Linked DNA regions of Homo sapiens: region 1 is linked to region 2. Evidence: promoter capture Hi-C in 16 types of primary human blood cells and fetal thymus (Javierre and others, 2016). All regions are on one chromosome and are shown on one strand. Each heading gives the region's core, a stretch centred on a gene start or on the middle of the fragment in contact. The rest is flanking DNA. Distances are from core to core; before and after follow the strand shown. Region 1 overlaps PPP1R12C (protein phosphatase 1 regulatory subunit 12C). Region 2 holds the start of TMEM238 (transmembrane protein 238).

Region 1 (2,810 bases), core at 1-2,500, 270 kb after region 2:
TTTTCGTGGCTCCCTCTGGAGTCCCGACTTGCTGGGACACCGTGGCTGGGGTAGGTGCGGCTGACGGCTGTTTCCCACCCCCAGGCCTGCATTGATGAGAACCTGGAGGTGGTGCGCTTCTTGGTGGAGCAGGGCGCCACTGTGAACCAGGCAGACAACGAGGGCTGGACGCCACTGCACGTGGCCGCCTCCTGTGGCTACCTAGATATCGCCAGGTGAGGCAAGGGAGGGCCGGGCAGGACCTGGTCGGGGTGGGGGCCTGGACCCTCAGCCCTGACCAGCCCCCACCCCCAGGTACCTCCTGAGCCACGGGGCCAACATCGCCGCCGTCAACAGTGACGGGGACCTGCCCCTGGACCTGGCCGAGTCGGACGCCATGGAGGGGCTGCTGAAGGCGGAGATCGCCCGCCGAGGTGGGCTCTGGTGTGCTGTGTGTGGGGTGGGGGACACCTCCTCACCCGTGGTCTCCAGGCTGAGAGCTTTAGAGGCGGCCTGGGCACCGAGGCTGACCCTGCTTCCTAGGATTGTCTTTCTTTGTGCCTCAGTTTCCTCACCTGTGAAATGGGGGTGTAGGGGCCTGCCTCCAGGATTGCTTGGAGCCCAGCACACGCACAGGATGAGAACTCAAACCCCTACCAACTGGGACTGTCAATCCCCCTGAGTAACTGAGGGGATTGGAATGCCGGGGCGGGGTGGGTGGGTGGAGGGACTCACCCAGGAGTGCGTTAGGTAGGATTGCTGGAACCCTGCCGCAGGTCTTTCTGGGAGGGGATGCGTTTACTTGGGGGGGAGTAGGGGCATGCAGGGGTTGCCAGGGACTGGTCTCCCTGTCCTCTGAGACTCATCGTACCCCAGGAGCCTTCATATGGGGTCCAGGAGCCCCTGAAACTGTGTCTGGCCAGGTTCATTTTTCTAGGGAAGGGGTGTTGCTTCTAGCAGGTGTGTGATGGCCACACAGGATCCCTGGGTCCCCAGCATGTCTTCTAAAGTCCTGGGCTTGCCTCCCAGCTCTGCCTGTGACTGGTGACTCCAGGCACGTCCCTGAAGCTTGCTTCCCTGATTTCCTAAAACAGGACCACTGGTGCCGCTTCATGGGGTGGTTGTCAGGGTCTGGCTGGGTTGGAGTGGAAGGGTGTGAGCATGGTTCCCGGCAGACTCCAGGGGACCGTGTGGAAGGAAAGGGAGACTGACGAGGAAATGAGATACCGGCAGCCTCCGAGACTTCTGACGCGGCTGTCCTGACGGGGCCGCTGGCCAGGCTGAAAGGATAGGATTCCGCGTGGGTTCAGGGGTCCACGAGAGCCATGCGGGAGGACTAGCTAGTGGGACACGTGACGGCGGAGATCTGAGGTTCGGGAGCCCCTCTTTGGTTGAAATGGGGAGTGGGTCAAATCAGCCCTGGACCTGGATTCTGTCTCCTTCCTCCTCCAACTTTTTATTTTGGGAAAGCTTCAGATTTACAGAAAAGTTGAAGCAATAGCATGTGACTACCCATATGACTTTCACTAAGATTCGCCAGTGCTTTTTCTTTTTTGTTTTTGTTTTTTAGACAGCTTTTTGAGATGTAATTCACCTACCCTACAATTCACCCAAAGTGCACACTTCAGTGCTTTTTAGTCTATTCACGGGGTCGGGCATTTATGACCACATTGGTTGTAGAACATTTTCATCATCCCCCAACGAAACCCTGCAACCGCTTAGCCATCACCCCCAACCATGCACCCCCCCCTCCCCCCCACCCCACGAAGCCCTCTCTGCCTTCTGTCTGTGGATTTGCTGTTTTGTACACTTCACATAAAGGGAATCATACAGTATAGAATCATCAGCTTTTAACTTTTTGATAGATTTGTGTTCCTTCTCTCTGTCCCTCCCTTGCGATCTCTTCCCAGGTATAGACATAAACACATTTTTTCCTATCCTTTCTCCTCCTGTTTTTTTCCCTCCATCTCTCCCTTCCTTTCTTACCACCCCACCCCTGCCTTTCCATTCCTGAGCCTTTTTTTTTTTTTTGAAACAGAGTTTCACTTTTTGCCCAGGCTGGAGTGCAATGGCATGATTTCGGCTCACTGCAACCTCCACCTCCTGGGTTCAAGCGATTCTCCTGCCTCAGCTTCTGGGTAGCTGAGATTACAGGCGTGAGCCAGCATGCCCAGCTAATTTTGCATTTTTAATAGAGATGGGGTTTCACCATGTTGACCAGGCTGGTCTCCAACTCCTGACCTCAGGCGATCTGCTGGCCTCGGCCTCGCAAAGTGTTGGGATTACAGGCGTGAGCCCGGCCATTCTGAGACTGTGTTGCAGGCATTGTACATCTTCGCCTGATGCACAGCAGGTATCTCCTGCCACAAGGAAAACCTCCTGCAGAACCACAGTAGGGATGCAACACGCTACCCCCTGTGTTGACCTTGATGCTACACTCTCACCCACCGCACCAACCTTGATGCTACACTCTCACCCACCGCACCAACCTTGATGCTACACTCTCACCCACCGCACCAACCTTGATGCTACACTCTCACCCACCGCACCAACCTTGATGCTACACTCTCACCCACCGCACCAACCTTGATGCTACACTCTCACCCACTGCACCAACCTTGATGCTACACTGTTGCCTGCGTTTCTCCTTGACATTCTTTGTAGCCTCTCCCGCTCTGGTTCAGGGCCCAGCTAGGGATCCAGATCTGGGTGATTTAGGCTCCCTCTGTCTGGATCAGTCCTCCTTTTCCCTTGGACCCCAGGGAGGCCGGGAATGGCCTCCAGGGGGTCTGTGAACTTTCTGACGTTGTATTTTCCTGCAGAAATTGCTC
Region 2 (2,812 bases), core at 1-2,500:
TAGCCCCGGCACCTTTGGATATTTCCGGTCTTCGTAAGCCCTCGCGGTGATGGCCAATGAGGGCGCCGAGGCCCGCTCGGGTATTTTCGGAACCCTCCGGAAACGCTCTTGGGAGAGGTGTGTATGTTCGGAAATACTCCGTCTTCATTCGGAATCCCTCGGCTAATCCTGGCAGCCCTCTTGCAGTTCGCCCTCCCCAGGGTTTTCTTGAAATAAAACTCTTAAACTGTTTAAGCCTGGGGAGAACCTACACGGAAACTTCTCGCTGACTGCCACCCCAGGGGAGCGCGGATGCCCTCTAAGGGAGAATTGTTTGGAGGGAGGGAGATTTGCATGTGGCTTCTCTTGGCTCCCTTTAGGATTCTATAGATTTGCCGGTCCTCTTCCCTGCCCTCCACCTGTGCCTCCAGCCTATGGTGTGCCTGTCACACCCCATCAGCTCCCTGGGAGGTTATGATCCGTTGTCAGGGCCACCCTAAGGGGGCAGGAGCCTTGCCTGATATTTCTCTGTGTCCTCGGCCTCACCCACGCGGCATGGTGCTGGGGAGGCCTCAGAGACTCCTACTGAACAAAAGGAATGAGGGTGCCTGTGTCACCTCCCCAGGGCTCCTTAACTTGCGGTTACACCCGGGCACTCCTTGGGGCAGGGGCTTCGTCTGGTCCATAGGACTATCCTCCATAGGACAGTCGGGGTTCGCCCAGCTTCCTCCACGGGTGCGCTCTGGACCTGATGGGTCTCGTCCGTCCTTGTGCCCGTGGCTTCATTCGCTGAACACAGGAGACCCCAGAAGACACGCGCTGAGTGAAGGAAACTCAGCTTCCGCGGAACCCGGAGCTTCCCCTCTTAGATCACCCCGACTACTGGTTCTCGCGTCCCAGAGCTCCTTGGTGTCTAAAGGCCTTGTCTGATCTGCACTGTCTGATCTGCACAGGCTTCGGGAGGCGGACACTGAGCAGAAACAACGCCACGCCCGGCTCCGAGTGTCCCATGCTGCCACCACTAAAATGCCCTGATTTTTGGCCATATGTGACCTCCCTGGGTGGCACGGGCCCTAGGCACCCGTGGCTGTGCGCCTGGCTACCACCAGCTCAGGCCTCTGAGCAATAGCCCCTGCACGGAAACCACGACCAGGGTAACCCCGGCCGCGCCGGTTCGCGCCCAGCCCGGTTCAGGTGACCAGGCGGGAGCTTGGCACACCTGGCGCCGTCCCCTGACCCCGCCCCGGACCGGGCCGCACCCCGGAACGCTCTCTCTGGGCGCCAGCGGCGGCGGTGCAGGGCCATGGCGGCGGCGCCAGCGGTGTGCGCCTCGCAGGGGAGCCCGCCGGGTGCACCGTCCGCGCCGGCGGCCGCGCCAGCACCCGCGGCCGGCCTGGGCCGCTGCCGGATGGCGCTGCTGCTGGCCGTGGCGCTGGATGTGGCGGGCATGGCGGCGCTGCTGACCGGCGTGTTCGCGCAGCTGCAGGTGCGCGGCCGCGACTTCGGGGACCTGCTCATCTACTCGGGCGCGCTGCTGGTGTTCCTGAGCCTGCTGGGCTGGATCCTCTGGTACACCGGCAACATCGAGATCTCGCGCCAGGAGCTGGAGCGCGACTACGGCCTGCGGCCCTCGGCGCTCGCCCGCCTGGCGCGCAAGCTCTCCCGCCGCTGGTCGGCGCCCGCCGCCGCGGGCCAGCGCCCCGCGCCCGGCTCCCGGAGAGCGCGCCGAGCCGCCCGCGCGCCCCCGCCGCCCGCCGCCGGCTCCCGCCGCGTGCGCCTGCAGCTCGCCACGCTCGAGGCCGGGCCCGGGGCGGCGGGCGCGGGCAGCGAGTGAGGCCCAGGTGAGGGGCGGGCGGGGCAGGGCGGGGAGACGGAGGGACCGAGGGAGGGACGGGAATGGAGACAGACGGGGGAGCGATGGACAGATGGAGACAGAGAGCGGCCATGGGGAGGTAGAGTCCCAGGGCGGGGTGGAGACAGGGACGGGAAGGCTCTGGCGGAGAACCGCAGACACAGCAAGCACAGGTGCATACGTGGGGGAGGCTGTGAGACCCTGCCCCTGGAGATGGGAAGTGTGGGGGTCGAGTCACACAGTTAGGCCCCCCGCACGGGGAGAGCCCCAGCTTCCAGGTACACCAGGCCCCATTTTTTGTTTTGTTTTGTTTTGTTGTCGTTTGGGGTTGTTTTGAGACAGGATCTCTCACTGTCACCCAGGCTGGAGTGCAGTGGCGTGATCTCAGCTCACAGCAGCCTCGACCTCCTAGGCTCAAGCAGTCCTCCCACCTGAGCCTCCCAAGTAGCTGAGAATACATGTGCGCCCCACCTTGCCGGGCTAATTTTTGTATATTTAGTAGAGACGGGGTTTTGCCATGTGGGCCAGGTTGGTCCCCACCTCCTGAGCTCATGCGATTTGCTCTCCTCAGCCTCCCAAAGTGCTGGGATTACAGGCGTGAGCCACTGAGCCCAGACCAGGCCCCATTTAATCCTCTCCATGTAACTGGTCTCCAAGGTCACTACTATTACCATCCCCATTCTGCAGTGGAGGAAACTGAAGCGCAGAAAGGCGCCACATTTGCCCAAGGCCACACAACACGTAGGTGGAGGAGCTGGGATTCTCCTGACCTGTAGGCCTAGGAAAAGAGGAGCTGGGATTCTCCTGACCTGTAGGCCTAGGAAAGGAGGAGCTGGGATTTTCCTGACCTGTAGGCCTAGAAAAGGAGGAGTAAGAAGGACCAACAGCAGGAGAAATGAAGCCACCACACATTCACTCCCCTTTCCCCTCTACCTTCTATCTCTTTCCTAAACACACCTTTCCAGCTAGCCTGCCTCTGCT

What was found. The method cuts DNA at HindIII sites, captures the fragments that hold promoters and counts their contacts. A CHiCAGO score of 5 or more calls a contact.
Region 1: a contact is called between a fragment that was not itself captured here and the fragment with the promoter of TMEM238 in region 2, in 11 of 17 cell types (fetal thymus, activated CD4 T cells, naive CD4 T cells and 8 more). The highest score is 9.5, in fetal thymus.

What each region holds. Positions count from the first base shown.
Region 1 is chr19:55,110,070-55,112,879 of GRCh38, reverse strand. PPP1R12C (protein phosphatase 1 regulatory subunit 12C) reads left to right here. Exons shown (of 22, transcript NM_017607.4): 2 at 85-215; 3 at 295-413. Among named protein-coding and RNA genes, the nearest start is that of PPP1R12C, 6.2 kb to the left of the region's middle. The HindIII fragment of the contact is 402 bases long and covers 1,050-1,451 here.
Region 2 is chr19:55,382,730-55,385,541 of GRCh38, reverse strand. TMEM238 (transmembrane protein 238) reads left to right here and starts at 1,250. Exons shown (of 2, transcript NM_001190764.2): 1 at 1,250-1,820. The coding sequence starts at 1,283. The coding sequence ends at 1,813. RefSeq lists enhancers at 565-634, 665-734, 688-1,650 and silencers at 1,025-1,364, 1,655-1,744. The HindIII fragment of the contact is 6,498 bases long and covers 1-2,812 here.